Regions from separate parts of the Homo sapiens genome. Here all the other regions are linked to region 5. Evidence: promoter capture Hi-C in human tissues and cell types (Jung and others, 2019). All regions are on one chromosome and are shown on one strand. Each heading gives the region's core, a stretch centred on a gene start or on the middle of the fragment in contact. The rest is flanking DNA. Distances are from core to core; before and after follow the strand shown. Region 1 has its middle 22 kb from the start of LINC02106. Region 2 has its middle 190 kb from the start of LINC02118. Region 3 has its middle 110 kb from the start of LINC02106. Region 4 has its middle 290 kb from the start of ISL1. Region 5 holds the start of ISL1 (ISL LIM homeobox 1).

Region 1 (3,711 bases), core at 15-2,514, 390 kb before region 5:
GTTTGTAGGATCTTCTTACACAGAAACAGAAAACTAATACGTGATAAAATTAGTATCACATTTGTATTTAATTTTAGCTCATGGCCACAGCAAGAAAGAACAATGAACTGACTCTTGAGATCGTTTGTTTGATACACTAGCATGCAATCGTTTTTATCTAGATACATATTTGTCATGCTTCAAGCTTCAGGAACCAACAGGAACAATGTAGATGGCATTTTCAGTAATACACTGATCGCTCTGCTCAGAAACGCTATCTAATCAGTGGAAGAAAATCCAACATCTTCTAGGCGGTTCTCTCCCCAAATGTTTCTGAGATGCCCTCAGTTGTGAGGGCTGCGTATGTGTAATCCTGTGGTTGGGTGATTAGCACGGTGGCTTTCCCTCTCAGAGTGTCAGGGCCCCTTTCTGAAATGCCACATTCCTTTATTCCATGCCCACCTTTGTGTTGCTGATCTTGGGCCATGTGCACCGATTGTTAATTTCTTTCAGGCACCTGCCTTTTCCACTGCCTGTGGGGCCCTGTGCAGTCTGTTGCTTGCTCCGAATCGTGCGCAGAACACGCAGGGTGTGATCTCAGGCCGTGGCCTCTGTACTTTCTCTCCCTTCCTTCAGCTTTCACAATGTGCCGCTGGGTCTCTGCAGCTTGTCTTTCTGTTTCTGGCCACTAGCACAAATCTTTTTCTGTTTCGGATGGGAGAGGCAGGAGAAAGGGGGTGATGAAGAGTAGCGCTTCATTGACCTCTAGGGATGAATTCTGGCTCTTTTTGGCATAGCCGTTGACTTCCTCAGAGTGTCAGGCTCTCCAAAAAGATGGGGTCCGGGGTGGTCAGGGACTGCCTGAAAGCCTTTCTACAAGCAACCAGGCCCACCTGCTGAGTCTAGCTCCCATCTGCCACTACTCACAGGGGTTTCCCCCTCAGAGGCTTAGTTTTCCTCTCTGAAATCCATTCAGCCATGTTTGTGTGGGTCTAGATTTCAATGATAGACACACCTTAGTCCTTTCCCATGAACTCCTGGCTTCAGTCAAACCAAGGAGGTGATTGGACATTTATTTGAGTCCCAAATACTTTATGATAGGAATTTGTTCACTAAAAACATAAAAAAGGGAGATGGGGGAGCAGTGTGAGGGCTGGGGTTGCCTAACTCTACCTACAGCTAGCCTGGCTGGATCTGAGGGGCAGTCAAGCTAGAACAACCATAACTCTTATTTAAATAGCATTTCTGAACTTTATCTGTAGACAAGCAACTAAAAACATAGCCTACACCTGGTTCCCCAGTGCAATGTGAAAGACTTCAGAAACTAAAAAATATTTATGAATTGCAAATATACATGCAATTACTAATGATTTCCACTTGATTGCAGTTCTTAGCTTCTAAATTTAGAATTCTAAATAATCAATCATGGACAGACCATCACTTTGTTAAATTTCTGTCACGACAATTAACCAGAAATGAACCATTGTTTTGTTTTGCTTTCTGAGAAAAGGGCATTTAGGAATTAAGTTTACACTGAGTGGATATAGTTGCCTTTGTTGTGCACCTGCAGTGTCTCTAAATGTAAGTAACTTCCATGGATTTAAACCTCAGGGTAAACTTTTACTACAGATGAATTATCTGTTGAGTTAGGAAGTAAAGAGATTAAACAATAAAAGAACCCATTTTACCATTGTGCACTTCCCTATGTGCTTTTGTGGGAAAAATAAATATCATAGGATAAAGGGACAGAAATGGATTATGGTAGAAAATAAATACAAAACAAAATGCAAGTGACTCTTCAGCTCTCAAAATGTCTCTGGCTTGAAAGGCACAGAGTCTGTTTAAGGTGTTCATTGTCTTGAAAGCTTTTTAATTTTTTTTAATTTTTAATTTTTTGAGTACATGGTAGGTGTGTATATTTATGGGTTCCATGAGGTATTTTGATGCAGTCACTCAATGATAATAATCACATCAGTATAAATGGTGTATCTATCATGTCAAGCATTTATCCTTTGTGTTGAAAGCTTTTTTAAAAAACATACATTTTATTGAGATATACTTTATATTAAATACATTATTTTGGCCAATTGAACTTAAAAAAAAAATAGTACCTGGTACCTTTAAAGGCAACTAACAGAGTTAGACTTAGGACTCTATTTAATTGTTTGACCCTTTCCCTGGAAGATAGTTTTGTGAAAGGATTAGCTTTGGCACCTTAAAACTACATTATTCTCTGAAAAATACAGAAAACATTGATGCAAATACTTATTCTTTAGCACAGCTAAAGTAGAATAATCACCTCTATTTTTGTTCATTAGATTACACGTTTAAAAGCTGTATATTAAATACCTAGTGACATTGTTATTTTTCTACTGTTATTCTTGGAAACAATCTTGTGAAGAATTTTTCTTGGCTCCTTTTGAGTTTTTCTTTCTCCCTCAAAATGTATGTGATAATTCATGTGCATGCATTCATATGTATATATTATCAGTTTGAACTGATTACATATTTTACAACCAACTAGATTATGTTGGTCTCATCATCTCACACATACTACCTTACCTCACTCATTACTCAACATACTGGCCCAAAAAGCTGCAATATCACACACAAATGCACACACACACACACACACACACGCAAACAGAATCACACAAAAAATAGAAGCCAAAAGAAATGGTGATGAGGTTTAGAGTTGTCATTGTCCCAGACATTCCTAATACTTTATAAAAACAAAAGTAGTATGTCTAATTTCTGCTTTAGGGTTGTTAAGTTGGATAAAAATAAGTCACCTAATCTTGCAGCTTTACTAAAAGTATAAGAGAAAAAAATGAGCTTTTTTCTTATCATTCATGAATCCAAGAATATTGGTGTGTGCAGTTCTGAGAAAACCCTTTTGTGTCATAAGTTTCAGAGTCTGGTCAATGTAAAAATAATTCTATAAGCCCTGTATCTACTGTCTGAAGCAACTATCACTTCTACACATGTTTAAAAAATCACTTATATCTGAGTTTTAAATCACTGAGACATGAAGTAGAATTTATTTTGTGTGGCTTCCTGGTGCCAATGACTCTATTCTTATTCTACACAGCGTTAGTATTGTATTACTGAATTAGACCGAAAATGCAGGATATGTTGCTGTAATCAGTGTCTTGCCATTAATCACTTCCCTTGTCCCTTTGCCTCACCATCACTCCTTCATGGCAATACCTTAGGGGCTATTTCAATTTTCCACCTCCACTGGTGGATCTCATGACCAAAGGGCTTGGTGCTGTGTGAGTCAGGGTCCAGATAGAAAATAGAAACCAATATCTGTATTTAAAACAAGGGAATTTCATGTGAGAATTGGTTAGCTAGAACTGAAAAACCCACCTGAAGTTGCAAATAAACTCATAGATGAGCAAGAACAGGAAATCACGTTGCACTAGGCTGCAGGGACAAAGGTAGGAGGGCTATTATCAGAAAAAGGGAATGTCTAGGATAGATACGACATTAAATAAAGTTTGAATAGACACAAAAAGCATTAAAGTATTAAGTAATGGCAACTGGAACTTTAACAACACTTCTGTCCTTCTGTAGTCTGTTGATATAGATTGGATGTGTGTCCTCTGCAGATCTCATGTTGGAATGTGATCCCCATTGTTGGAGCTGGGGCCTAATGGGAAGTATTGGTTCATGGGGGCACATCCCACATAAATCGCTTAGTGACATCCCCTTGGTGATAAGTGAGTT
Region 2 (3,507 bases), core at 193-2,692, 440 kb after region 5:
AATTATTCTCTTGCATATGTCGCTTACTCCTTTGACCCTCTCTACTTCTGACTGATTATCAGAATAATTCATTCCTGATTAATTCTTACTCAGTCGGTTCTATACCTGTATGGGAGTAGCAGAAACTACCCAAGGAAAACTTTAACCATCCATTGTCTTTTTTTATATTTATGACCATAAACCCAAGTGATTCCCCAGGGCTGTCCAGTAATCCTTCCACATTTCCACATTCAATTCACCCTCCCTTAGTCTTTGGTGGGTATTTTATACTTTCCCCTATCTTCTCACACCTCAACATTCTTTTTCTCTACCCTTTTAGCTGAGGACCTGATTTCCCTGGAAAAACCAAGACAAGTAGATGAGAAAGTCCTCATTTTCTCATCTCTGAATCTATCAATCTGTATTGGTGCCCATATATCATGCCTTTCTTGCTGCAAGAAAAGAAACTGTTCTGCCTTTCTCTAAAGCCAAGCCTTCCATAAATATTGATTTTAATTCCTGCTTATCGTTTGAAGATTATTACTTTGGTCTTTTCTGTTTTCTCAGCTACCCTATCAATTTTTCTGTGCTGGATCACTCCCATCATGATAGAAACATACTGAAAATCTCTCTTTTATTAAAACAAAAAAGAAAACCTCAACCTCTGCCTTCATCCTATAACTCTCTTTGATTCTGTTTCATTCTAATCCAAAATTTATTCTGTCTCCATTTTCCAACTCTTCTCTCTTTTCTCCTCCACTCAATCTAATCAAGCTATCATTTCCTTTATTCTACTGAAAACGTACTTACAAAGGTAGTGAAAACCCCCATAAAGCCCATTCCAAAAGTCTACTCTCAGTTTTTGTTTTATTTTATGCTTTAAGCAGTATTTGCCATTTCTGATGAAGCTTTCAGAGTACTGCCTCCGTTGTTGTTTTTCCTTCCTGACTATAGCTCTATGAGTTTTACTTTCACACATTGGGTCTTTCATTTATATCTGGACCTCTACATTCTGGGGTCCCCCGTATTTTAGTCCTCTGACTTTTTACTTGTCTCTATGCTCTCTCTAGTGATGCATATATCCAGGTATATAACTTTAAATATCATCTATATACTGAAAACTGAACATTTATGTAACTAACCAAGACCTTGCCCCTAAATGCCAGACTGCATTTTCCAAATACTGATTGGACATCTCTATTTTAATTTCTAATAATTATTTCAAATGTATTAAATAACTAGGTCAAAACACAATTCTTAATTCCTGCATCCCTCCCCACTTTCTGATTCTTCCCAGGTTCTTCCCACCTTGAATAATGGTATCACAACTTACACAAACGCTCAAGTCAGAAGCCAAAGAATCATTGTTTATTCTTATTTTCTCCTTATATTCTTCACATACATATTACAGTATAATCTATCACCAAATACTATTGATTCTATCTTCAAAATATAACTTGAATTCAAGCACTCCTTTCTTCCCTGATCATTTTTTTTTTCTTTTTTGGAATCTAAGCAATTTTGTCCATTCACATTGCTAATCACTCTCTGGTCCAAACCCTGTCTCTTGCCTCGAGTTCTGCAATAACATATCAACTGGTCTTCTGCATATACTCTTCACCCATCTTTTTGAGAAGTATTCTCCACATAGATTGAGCAATCTTTGAAAAGAAGCCAATGGTAAAATTTTAGTGTTGCTGTGAAAGAAAGGTGAAAGACAAATTGTTCACCACTGCTACTCCTATTGAACATTGTAATTGAGTCATAACCAATTGATAAAACCAGTAAAGGGAAGACACATATAAGGACTGGACAGGAAGATGCCACCTGTACTTATTTTCAAAGAGTATGATTTTCTACATAGCAGAATCACATAAAGTAATGAAAAAACAGCAGTTAATCATTTACAAATACCTATGGCAGAAATTGGTAGTTTTCCTCCAATAATTGTTCTCTGTCTTTTGCATAATAACAAAATGATTACATTAGGTGCATGGTCACTCACGTAAAGACATTTTCCAGTATCTTTTATGGCTAGGGTAATCATGAGCCTAAGTTCTGGCAAGTAAGATACAAGAGGGGAGGTGTGTTTTTTCTAGGTTGTGCTTTTAATAAGAATAAACATTCCCTCAGTTTTCCTTTCTTCCTCCTGCTGGTTGGAATTCAAATATGATGTGGAAACTGAAGTATTTATCTTGGCTCAAGATGGCATCCGAGAATGGCAGAGAAGTTAAATAGAAAGAGCTTCACCCTCTTGACACTGTGTAAAGCCACTCTGCCAGCCCAGAGATTGAATATGACCCTCTCATTTTTATATGCCTCTTATGGTAGCCAAATGTATAGAACATACGAATACATCAACAAATAAATTAGATAAATAGTAGCATTATTTTGTAATTGCTTTGACACATTTTGAATACATAAAATCTTAAAGATAAAATTGATATGTCCCATGCATCCTTACCAGTATCTTTCCCTCATTTCTCTCAAAAGGTTATTATTATTATAAAATGTGTTTGTCAAAAATATAACATATATTTATTAAATATTAATATATCCACAAACCATATAGGGTTCCATATTGGTTGTGTTTGCCTTTAAATGTTCCTTTAATATTTCAAATAATATGTAACATTCTGTAACTTACTTTTTCACTCAACATTGTTTTCAAAATTCTAATTACTTTGTTATGTATTAATCTAGTTCATGCATAAAAATATTTTATAGCATGATAGTCTACGAATGTACCACCCAATGTATTTATTGAAATTGTGAATTTTTGCATGTAGTTCAGTGGTTTATGAATGTCTATTACAGAGTTTGGCAAATAGTAGACATTCAAATTTTTTCTAATAAGTGAGTTAATTTATGTCCCTGATTATGATCATTTGAGTTGCTCCAAATTTTTATTGTTACACATAAGGCTACAGTGAATACATTTGGCCCAGTCCTTGTGTTCAAAATAGCTGTGAGATGAACTACTGAAATACAATTGACAATTTGCAGGCTACAAGTAACTTCAACTTTAATGTCAAGCTAATCTTTAAAGTTTATAAGAACTTCCTTGTCAACACCTTTTCACCAACACTTGATATTGACAATCATGTCTTTTTTGTTTAACCAATTGGATGGGGATGAAAATGCATTTTTCATTCATATCAATTCAAAATCATTTACAACTTTAGTAAAATTTAAGTATAAAACAAGAAGGCCGGGTGCGGTGGCTCACGCCAGTAATCCTAGCACTTTGGGAGGCCGAGGCGGGCGGGTGGATCATGAGGTCAGGAAATCGAGACCATCCTGGCTAACACAGTGAAACCCCGTCTCTACTAAAAATACAAAAAAATTAGCCGGGCGTGGTGGCGGGCGTCTGTAGTCCCAGCTCCTGGGGAGGCTGAGGCAGGAGAATGGCGTGAAACCCAGGAGGCGGAGCTTGCAGTGAGCTGAGATGGCGCCACTGCACTCCAGCCTGGGCTACAGAGCCAGACTCCGTCTAAAAAAAAAAAAGGAAAAAGACAAGAACATGCT
Region 3 (3,884 bases), core at 136-2,635, 300 kb before region 5:
TTCATATATGATGATTTCTCATCATTTACTTAAATTAAGTGGTTATTAACTTTTCTATTACATCGGATTTCCCTATAAACAAGTAACTGTTGGATTGCTTTCTTTTCACATTTTATTGAATTTGCTTTTAACTGTAAGTCAGTTCTTCTCATATATTTTATCTTTTCTTGCTATTGAATACTTACATTTTATTTTTATTTCTTCTTGCAAGGAATTTTAAGACTATAGATTTTCTCTAAAAATAGTGTTGGCCAAACCCCATGGGTTCTAATTTGTGTGTGTTTTTTTCCCATTATTATTTTGTAAGTACTCTGCATTTGTTTTGCTTTGTTGACCAAAGTGTTGACAAAGATGGTTTTTAGTTTTGTTCTATTACTAGGTTCTTCCAAATCTCTTCCTTTTAGGTATTCTTTGTGCCTTTTCTGGTATAAGCAACTAGTAAACAGATTTTTTTTTTTACAAAGTACAATTTTAAACCTAATTTTGTGACCCTAAAATGTACATTCCTGTATACTAAAGCAATAAAAGTAATATGTACATATCTTTTTAAAATTTTATGGTCTATTTATTTGCCAGTGGCTTTATTTTAAAGACAATGGCTAAATGAACTTACATATATAATACATATAAAATATAATATATTTCATATATTAACATTCTTTAAAATATTGCAAGCTCTCTGAAATTGAGGGCTAGTTTAATTGCAGATTTTTTTTAGTGATGAGTAATTATATACTTTTCTATTAATGACATCTTAGTTTCAATGAAACATGGTATTATCAGAAACAGACATATTCTGAGATATAATTTTATATTAAAATTTAGTTCACTGCTTTAGTAAAAATCATGTATTATTCATGATCTGTTTGCACCTAACATTGGGACTGTTTTACAATATGCAATTATATCTTGATGGTGTAATTTAATCAAACTATTTCTGAATTCTTGAATTAACTTAAAAAATAGTATGTCACTCTAGAAAGAATACTGTACCAAGAGTCAGGATACACATCATTCTCTCCACTTTATTACTCTCACATCTGCTCTCAGCCCTTGCTGTATCCTGCCCTCAGCTCTCACCAGTGCTAACTCCATTCATCCTCTGCTGTCCTCACAGGCTCTTCTCTCACCTGAAACTCTGTGGGCAGCCTCTTCCCAGGGTTATCACACCACTCCAGTTACCTTGCCTCTTTTTAACCCTATTATGTTCAAATTATCAAAACACACTTTGGGAAACTCCTATGGGTGCCTTATCTCGATCCAGATACTGGGCTAATCAGAGTTGGAAGGATCATCTGATCTGATCCATACTAAAAATAAAGAAATTGAAATTAGATAAGTTAATGACCTTATCTCTGTCTCTCACCTTGAGCACCTTGAAGTAATCTATCATCAACTATCTCAATTTTTTTACTTCTGTACTTCACAGCCATTCTTTTGTTCTATCCAGTCTTCTCATCCCCTCTTCTTATCTCAGAAAAAGGAATGTACTTCCTCTCTGAAGCTAGTCCATCTATTTCTACATCAAAAGGTTAATGTTAATTTTCCTCATGCCATTTCTTTTTCCACTCTTTTTATCTTAGGCCTCTTTTAACTCATAGAAGTGTTTATTTCTCCCTCTTATTTTTGGCCAGCATATTTATATCTTTGTTACTATACTTAAAATCCAATGGCTTTTATAAAAGCATGAAAAATGTTCAACTTCCCACATAATTGTATAAGTGTAAGTTAAAATGACACAAATTTATGTATATCAGACAATCAAAAATTTAAAAGTTGTCAATACATAAATTAGCCAAGAGTTTGGATCAATAGGTAGCGTCTTAATGGGAATGGAAATCAGTACAACCTCTATGAATATAAATTTGGCAATATCTATCCAAGTTTAAAATGCAATTTCAAATCTAGAAAATACTCATACAATTGGACAGATTTCATTGTCACTATTTTTAATAATAAAAAAGTCACCAAAAGGTAAATGTACAGAAATAAAGCTTTAATTAAATATGTCATTGTATATAAATATAAGAAACTATGGTGAAGCTGCTCAGAAAAATTAAGTGATGAAATTGTACACACTCAAACATTTTTTGTTATTTTAATATCAAGATACAGAAATATATACACACATACATCACTTATATATGCACAGATGTCTGAAAACTACCTAAAAATTATTGCTGCCTCTTAGTATTATGGTTTAAAGTTTTTGCCGTGTTACTTTCATATTTAAAAAATAGCGGCCAGGCGCAGTGGTTCATGCCTGTAATCCCAGCACTTTGGGAGGCCAAGGCGGGCAGATCATGAGATCAGGAGATCCAAACCATCCTGGCCAACGTGGTGAAACTCTGTCTCTACTAAAAATACAAAAATTAGTCGGGCGTGGTGGTGTGCACCTGTAGTCCCAGCTACTTGGGAGGCTGAGGCAGGAGAATCGCTTGAACCCGGGAGGCGGAGGTTGCAGTGAGCCGAAATCACGCCACTGCACTCCAGTCTGGGTGACAGAGTGAGATTCTGTCTCAAAAAAAAAAAAAAAAAAAAAAAAAAAGCTTATTTTTATAGCCAATAGGGTGTAGTTTGGACTAACAGTAAAATCTCATCATTAAGTTCAGGCTGTTGTTTTTATTCTTGATACTGTTTACAATTCTGTTCATTGCATAAAATAAAATAGCGTCAAAATTAGAAAGATGCCCTCTTTCCCCCTAGTGTGTCTAGATCTCATTACCTAGAAGCAATCTTCATTAATATTTTGGTATCTTTTCTTTGCGAATATTGTCTATCCTTATTGCTCTTGCCTGGGCTTTCTCTAGACTGAGGACGCATGGTGGGAAGAGCTCTGGCACCATCCACTGTGGATCCACACCTTCCTGTCTGTGTGACCCCAGGCAAGTTACTTAACCTTAGGGTGCTTCTGTTTTCTCTTATGTTAGAAATGGGACCTATTGGGCCAGACGCAGTGGCTCACACTTGTAATCCCGGCACTTTGGGAGACCGAAGCAGGTGGACCACTGGAAGTCAGGAGTTTGAGACCAGCCTGGCCAACATGGCAAAACCCCATCTCTACTAAAAATACAAAAATTAGCCGGGTGTGATGGCACATGCCTGTAGTCCCAGCAACTCAGGAGGCTGAGGCAGGAGAATCGTTTCGACTGGAGAGGGGGAGGTTGCAGTGAGCTGAGATCGCACCACTGCACTCCAGCCTGGTTGACAGACTCCAGATCAAAAAAAAAAAAAAAAAAAAAAAGATGAGGGAGGACCTATTAAAATTATGTGGGAAAGAGAAAATCCATGTAAAACATAATAATATCTAGGACATAGTAAGTGCTCAGTGGAAGCTCTTATTATTTCCTTGTTTAGGCTATCCTTTCCTAATTTTACTCTCCCCTGTTAACAATTCTCTGAACTCTCCATCACTAAAATGCTTTTCCCATTGACTTTGCCACACACAATTTATTATTCTCTCATTTTTCCTCTGCTACCACATTTCTTGAGTTGTAAGTTGCTTTCTACACTGCTACTTCCTTTAACAACTAGGTTGCCCTTTTTCTTTTGCCATCTGAGTCTTTTTTTCTGCATTACTCTACTAAAAGTTCTACATATCACTCTCTAAAGGCCTAAAGTAGTCACCAAATAAAATGACAGTTCCTCAGTACTATGCAACCTTTTTACAGCATTTTGAACCTTTGTGTTGATCCTCTTTGAAATTTTCTTTTCTCTTGGTTTTCTTCACAATTTTCTCTTTCTTTTATTATTTTTATAGATTTAGGGGATACAAGGGCAGATTTCTCACATGCATGTATTGTATAGTGATGGAGTCAGGGCTTTTATTGTACCCATCACCTGAATGGTTAACATTTGTACCTGATAGATAATTTTCAACCCTC
Region 4 (3,563 bases), core at 831-3,330, 290 kb after region 5:
CTGCGTGGCATGGTGTGGGTGGCAGAATGAGACCCTGTCTGAAATCAAACAAACAACATGAAAACAACAACAACAACAACAAAACAAGTCACCTGGGTGTTTAATTTACATAATCTCGTTGAATCCTGTATCAGGATATCTGTGATCAACATGTCTTTTATTCGGAAAAGAAAGTGAGGCAAAGAAAGTTTAAGTAAATTGACTAAGTCACACAGTAACTGGCAAATCAAAATTCAAGCTCACATCTGTCAGGCTTTCAGGGCTATCATCTGTACATGATTCCACACTGTCATTAGTCCTTTTTGTGCCACTCTCTTTTTTCTGTTTACCTTCTGAATTTATTTTCCTCTAAAATGGGGAACCATAAAAGTAGAAGCAGGAAAGTAGTTAAGGTAGTGCTGTGGTTCAGACAACAGCTATGATGGCCATGATCAAAATGGTAGCAGTGGATATGAAGTCTGAAGATGAGCAAATTTCATATTTATATCAATCTATGAATATATTTTCTCTTTCTTTCTTCATTCCTTCCTCCCTTTTTCGTTCTCTCCTTCCCTCCGTCTTTTCTTTCATAGTCACTTGCACTCCTGCATATTTTTGTTAGTTTGCTCTTCCTATCATAAACATGCCATGCATTATGACATCTGAGTCATTGATAAAATGTTTGCAATAGGTAAGGTTGAAAACTGCACTCTTCAACATTTCACTTGAAGACTTTCCTTCTGGCCATGATCATTCTATTAATTGGCCATCTTTCTGTCAGTAACCAATTCCCCTGGATAAAATAGTCATCAAGTCCACTTTCCTCAACTTGTCAACAAGAATCTCATTAAAGCCTTTATCAGATGCCCGTATTTCATATACTTAGTGGATGGCATTATCTTAATCAACCCTTTAGGACATACCAGAGAGTGTGGCAAATTTGGTGTGTTTTTTTATTGCTTTAAAAGAAAACTTTTGTTTCTTATTTTTAAAATCTTATTCAAGGTATAACTTGTATAGACATGAGCCATTAGTTCCTGTCTGCTTTTAGTTAATCATGTGATTTGTACTGTCTGCACATGCCTTTTTTAAAAAATCTGAATTTATCTCAGAGACTCTTAGGCATTGATCTCTTCATGGGGAATTGGAGGTGGAGGAGTAATTTTCAGAAATGGAGTGAGAATTTTCTTCTTGAAAACCTCCTTAATTTCAGGAAATACGTTTCTGTTTAGTGTCTCATTTCATAAGTTCATATGTTTATTTCATTTTTCTATTTACCCTGGATTCTGATCATGCTTGGAGAAACCACTTGGGGTAAAGAACTCATTCAATTTTATTTCCCTTCCCTTAATTTGTTCTGTTCCTCACTGATTCCAGAGTTTCAGCTGAGATCTCCCTATTTCCTGTACTAACACTTACCAAGTTACATACATATACCTGTCTAAGACTCATTCTGCCATGTTTTGCTATGGCCACCATGTTTCTTATTCTCTGAGGTACTTGTTTCATTGATTATTCTCCCTCTCACTCTCTCTCTGTCTATAAGCTCCTACTTGCTACTTTGCTCTTAGTAAGTAAACTTACCTAAGTCTCTACCATTAATAATATACAAAACCTGCACAACGAAATGTCCACTCTCCGTAGTTACTCTTGTTTCCCTCTCTGCCCAATTACAGTCAAGAGTCTTGAAATAATAGACCAACCTCAGGATAACCACATTTCCTTTCTTCCTTTCAGTACTCAATCCAGTAGAATCCAACTTCAGATCTATTCCACTAAACTATCTCTGTTAAGATCACTAATGATACTCCTATTACCCTATCTTCATCTCTTCTCACTTGACTTTTTCTTTGTTATTTGACACTATAGCTCAGAATGTTGGATTCCAAGATACTAAATGTTCTGGTTACTTGTTAGTAGCCTTTTTTGTTTTTTGGCTTGCACTTAAAATATGCATTTTATTCGGTGTTTCATTTCCAGCCTTCTTCTTTTATCATACCATATTCTCTCCCTAGATGACCTCATTCAAATCCCAGGCTTTAACCACTGACTCTAAAATCTTGAACTCTATCTCATACTCTTCTTTGAGATTCAAATATTTAACTGTATATACTGTACAACTTTACCAAATTTTTACTGCTTGAAAGAATAAAGCTGATACTTCTCTTCCCATTTGGCTCCCTATTCTTATTCTTTCTGGATTTGAACCCAGAGGAGAGGAAGTATGACTAACACCTGATGAGCGTGCCAGGAAATTATTTTGAATATAGATCAAAAACTTGCATTCCTGGGCCACAGAATCAGCAGAAATAATCAAATGACCCCCTCTACTTTTCCAACCCTACGATACCTAACAATACCTCAATTTGCCAGATTCTCTACCTTTCATCCGATTACAATGGTTAGGTGGACTTCCTGTATCAGCTCCTACGCAAAGCAATGTTATGAGATGCCATCTGTTCTCACCTTTCCAATAGCTTTGCTCCTTCATATATTTCCTTTCTTCTGCATCATCAATTTCTCTTTATATGCATTTGATTATTTCCACCAGCATACCCACCCTCTTTAGTACCTGCCAGCCTTAGAGCATGACTTTGACGTCACATCTTTTTCTTTTTTTTTTAAATTATACTTTAAGTTTTAGGGTACATGCGCACAACTTGCAGATTTGTTACATATGTATACCTGTGCCATGTTGGTGTGCTGCACCCATTAACTAGTCATTTAACATTAGGTATATCTCCTAATGCTATCCCTCCCCCCTCCCCCACCCCACAACAGGCCCCGGTGTGTGATGCTCCTCTTCCTGTGTCCATGTATTCTCATTGTTCAATTCCCACCTATAAGTGAGAAGATTCGGTGTTTGTTTTTTTGTCCTTGTGATAGTTTGCTGAGAATGATGGTTTCCAGCTTCATCCATGTCCCTACAAAGGACATGAACTCATCATTTTTTATGACTGCATAATATTCCATGATGTATATGTGCCACATTTTCTTAATCCAGCCTATCATTATTGGACATTTGGGTTGGTTCCAAGTCTTTGCTATTGTGAATAGTGCCGCAATAAACATACATGTGCATGTGTCTTTATAGCAGCATGTTTTATAATCCTTTGGGTATATACCCAGTAATGGGATGGCTGGGTCAAATGGTATTTCTAGTTCTAGATCCCTGAGGAATTGCCACACTGACTTCCACAATGGTTGAATTAGTTTACAGTCCCACCAACAGTGTAAAAGTGTTCCTGTTTCTCCACATCCTCTCCAGCACCTGTTGTTTCCTGACTTTTTAATGATCGCCATCCTAACTGGTGTGAGATAGTATCTCATTGTGGTTTTGATTTGCATTTCTCTGATGGCCAGTGATGATGAGCATTTTTTCATGTGTCTTTTGGCTGCATAAATATCTTCTTTTGAGAAGTGTCTGTTCATATACTTCGCCCACTTTTTGATGGGGTTGTTTGTTTTTTTCTTGTAAATATGTTTGAGTTCATTGTGGATTCTGGATATTAGCCTTGTCAGATGAGTACATTGCAAAAATATTCTCCCATTCTGTAGGTTGCCTGTTTACTCTGATGGTAGTT
Region 5 (3,685 bases), core at 914-3,413:
AATAGCTTATTGGTTTAGGGAGTTAAAATACCACACTGTGGGTGGGAGGTGGGGGCTGGTTTGAAGGAGGATGGATAGTGAGGGTGCTTTGTGGATCTCAAATGTAAGTCATCAGGCTTCTGGTGGCTTCTGGTGTTTAATTCCATCTTATAAAAGTGGCATGATGGAATATGACTAGGTAAAACTCTATTTTCTGGCATTGTGGTGGTATCTTTTTTTTTTTTTTTTTTTACTAGGGTCAACATGTTTATCTCTATGGGAAACACACACAAATACTAGGAAGATTTGCTTCGTATTGAGATTAACAGCATCAGCTTTGCAAAAGCAGCCTGACAAAAGGCTCCATACATCTAATACCAGAGACTAGAAACAGACCAAAAAAAAAAAAAAAAAAAAACACACACCACACAACTGGTAAACTTATCAACCTAGGTCTATCCAACTTTCGCTTTCATACACGCGCTCTAAAACAACTTATAATAAAAATGGAAGGGAAGACAGATCCAATTTGAAATCCTCCTTGAGAAAAAACAAATCAAAACTAGTTCCTGGGGAAGAAAGCCTCAGCTAGGTCAGGAGGAAACTTACGCATCTTTGATTCCCTTTCCGCTTTGGAGAGGCATTACCCGTTCAAGCCCAGCCAATGCGGCCGGCCAGGATTTACAGCTCTTATCAAGGGTTAGATTTTGCGAAAGATATAAAGAAAGGAGTTTCCTAACACACCGGGTCTTCTCACAGCAACAAGACACCGAAATTAAGCCTTCTATGGTTTGTGTCTGTAGGACTTTTTAGATAAAACTGGCAGCCCCATTAGATAAGAAATGGCTTTTTAGAAGCTTTGGGGGAAGCGCGGGGGTTCTTCGTGGCCTTCCTGTGACTGTCTTTGGGAGACCGTAACAGATGATGGGAACATGTAAGAATGATTGAAGAAGGTTACCGGCGAGTTGCACCTAACAGTCTTCTCTCTCCAAGTAGTTTCTCGAGAGAAAATTATATATTAACGCCTGGGGACGTGAAATAGGTCTTTCACTGTTCTGTAATAAATCCCTCCCTACTCGCGCCCTTAGACTAATGCATTTTTAAAAAATCTCCACAAAGTCATGGAGACTTGTCCTTATAATTACCAAAATACCACAGCTAGTTGCACAAGTTTGCTTAAAAACAAAGGGCAGGAGACCAGCAGTGAGAAGAATTGAACAGTATATAAAAATCTTACAAACTTTAGACTACTGAAAGATCATTTCGCTCTTTGGCTTCGGGTTAGTGAGCTTCAATTCTAGAGTTAAACTGAGAAGCAGACCTCGCGGGTCTGAAAGACAAAAAGTCAGTCCGCGGAGTCAACTTCGGTTTACCGGTGCGTTCCAACCTGATTGTCCCAACAGCAAGAAGCGCCCCTTTCCTCCCACCCAACGTTTTTAGATATCTGAGGTTGGGGGAGACGGAGTAATGGTGTAGCAGTCAGGAAACAGTTCCTCTGGGTTTAATCATCCCATTCCCGATTCTTCTTCCCCTAGCGCGCCGAGCGCAGCCAGTTCTGGAGGAACTAGCCCTCCGGAGCAGCCAAGGCAGGCCAGGCCCCGGGGATGTGCACCACGGCGTGGGGACCAAACCAAGCTGAACGGCCTGCTCCAAGTTCCCCCCTTTTCCTAGAGCCCGGGAGGGACCTCGTCAACAGGTAGACCTACCCACCAGCCACTCGCCACCGGCGGCAGAAAGTGAGCCCCGCGCGCAACGCGGCCAGCCGGACTGCGGGGACCCCAGGAGCGCAGGGCGGAGGAGCAGCGCCACAGGAGGCGAGGGCGCAGGCGGCGCGGCCGGGAAGGAACGCGGGAGGGGACAGAAGGAAGAGGAAGAGGAGGAGAGGGAGGCCAGAGCCAGAACAGCCCGGCAGCCCGAGCTTCGGGGGAGAACGGCCTGAGCCCCGAGCAAGTTGCCTCGGGAGCCCTAATCCTCTCCCGCTGGCTCGCCGAGCGGTCAGTGGCGCTCAGCGGCGGCGAGGCTGAAATATGATAATCAGAACAGCTGCGCCGCGCGCCCTGCAGCCAATGGGCGCGGCGCTCGCCTGACGTCCCCGCGCGCTGCGTCAGACCAATGGCGATGGAGCTGAGTTGGAGCAGAGAAGTTTGAGTAAGAGATAAGGAAGAGAGGTGCCCGAGCCGCGCCGAGTCTGCCGCCGCCGCAGCGCCTCCGCTCCGCCAACTCCGCCGGCTTAAATTGGACTCCTAGATCCGCGAGGGCGCGGCGCAGCCGAGCAGCGGCTCTTTCAGCATTGGCAACCCCAGGGGCCAATATTTCCCACTTAGCCACAGCTCCAGCATCCTCTCTGTGGGCTGTTCACCAACTGTACAACCACCATTTCACTGTGGACATTACTCCCTCTTACAGATATGGGAGACATGGGAGATCCACCAAAAAGTAAGAGGCTATTTTACCTTGTGGGGCTCGGTGTGCTGTTCTTGTGCGGGGTTCTCTCTCAGGCACAGGCTGAGGTGCCAAGGGCTCTTTGGAGTTGGAGTCATTGCCTGGAGAAAGAGAAAAGGTGGCTTTTTCTTGTTGCCGCCACGCCTGCATGCTTACTGTCGGTTCTTATCTTCGGGAAACTGATTGTACCTTGTGTGTGAATTCGCCTGTGTGCCCTCCAAAGCTCTAGCTTTCTGGTGCTAAGCGGTGATTTCCTCCTGGGGAATCCTGAGCTCTCCGAGAAGGTTATTATGTTGCAAAGGTCTGCCTGCACAGTCAATGCCCAGAGATGTGAATTAGCATTAGACTTGCAAAAGAGAACGAGTGACAACTGTATTTATGCCTGCTCTTGCTAACAATATCCAGTCCTGTGTGCTATTTAAGAGCGCGCTTCACGGAAAATATAGACATCCCTGCGTTCACTTAACGCTTCTAGTCAAAACCTTTTCTTTGACTTGACTTATCCATAATCTTTCCCAATGATTATAGCAAAGAGGAAGGGGGGGGGGAGAAATACAAAATGAGCGGGTTTGATTGCGTGCTAGGCGTACAAATGTAGACTATTCCAATCTGCATTTTACATATATTCCACCTCCTTTTAAAAATGAGTCAAGGTTTTGATGGCACATTTCAATTACCATCCCAAAGTGCAATGCTCTAAAAAAAAAAAAAAAGAAAGAAAGAAAGAAAGAAAAAAACCTCCCAGAGTACGCCCTATAAGAGAACGACACTAAAAGTGTGTTTATCTCTGTAGGAAGTAAACGGTTAGTCAATCATGTATTTATTTTCATTTCAGAAAAACGTCTGATTTCCCTATGTGTTGGTTGCGGCAATCAGATTCACGATCAGTATATTCTGAGGGTTTCTCCGGATTTGGAATGGCATGCGGCATGTTTGAAATGTGCGGAGTGTAATCAGTATTTGGACGAGAGCTGTACATGCTTTGTTAGGGATGGGAAAACCTACTGTAAAAGAGATTATATCAGGTATGGCATTTACACTTCTTTCTTAATTTTGTGGGATTTCCCTGAATCTCCCCACTCTTTATGTATTATTTGGTGTGGCTTTGTCTTTTTGTGAAGTTTGCCTCAGTGTAGTCATACAAGCCAAAGTTACCCTGTACATGTGTTAAAAAAATCAAGCTATGCTGTTCATTTCATTCTTTAGTTGAGAAAAACAAAAACCCTTAACAGTGGTATTCATAATTCCGGGGTATTGAGGCTTG

The links. Contacts are between HindIII fragments. The study calls those that stand out against the background at their distance.
Region 1: a fragment that was not itself captured here is called in contact with the fragment with the promoter of ISL1 in region 5 in 3 of the 25 tissues and cell types used here (mesendoderm cells, small bowel and thymus).
Region 2: a fragment that was not itself captured here is called in contact with the fragment with the promoter of ISL1 in region 5 in 1 of the 25 tissues and cell types used here (H1 embryonic stem cells).
Region 3: a fragment that was not itself captured here is called in contact with the fragment with the promoter of ISL1 in region 5 in 3 of the 25 tissues and cell types used here (H1 embryonic stem cells, mesendoderm cells and thymus).
Region 4: a fragment that was not itself captured here is called in contact with the fragment with the promoter of ISL1 in region 5 in 1 of the 25 tissues and cell types used here (spleen).

What each region holds. Positions count from the first base shown.
Region 1 is chr5:50,990,122-50,993,832 of GRCh38, forward strand. No RefSeq gene overlaps it. Among named protein-coding and RNA genes, the nearest start is that of LINC02106, 22 kb to the left of the region's middle. The HindIII fragment of the contact is 4,087 bases long and covers 1-3,308 here.
Region 2 is chr5:51,819,718-51,823,224 of GRCh38, forward strand. No RefSeq gene overlaps it. Among named protein-coding and RNA genes, the nearest start is that of LINC02118, 190 kb to the right of the region's middle. The HindIII fragment of the contact is 6,037 bases long and covers 1-3,507 here.
Region 3 is chr5:51,081,678-51,085,561 of GRCh38, forward strand. No RefSeq gene overlaps it. Among named protein-coding and RNA genes, the nearest start is that of LINC02106, 110 kb to the left of the region's middle. The HindIII fragment of the contact is 3,909 bases long and covers 1-3,340 here.
Region 4 is chr5:51,667,076-51,670,638 of GRCh38, forward strand. No RefSeq gene overlaps it. Among named protein-coding and RNA genes, the nearest start is that of ISL1, 290 kb to the left of the region's middle. The HindIII fragment of the contact is 7,640 bases long and covers 1-3,563 here.
Region 5 is chr5:51,381,285-51,384,969 of GRCh38, forward strand. ISL1 (ISL LIM homeobox 1) reads left to right here and starts at 2,164. Exons shown (of 6, transcript NM_002202.3): 1 at 2,164-2,415; 2 at 3,257-3,446. The coding sequence starts at 2,388. It overlaps ISL1-DT (ISL1 divergent transcript), which reads right to left and starts at 2,048. Exons shown (of 2, transcript NR_046243.1): 1 at 1,690-2,048. The HindIII fragment of the contact is 8,696 bases long and covers 398-3,685 here.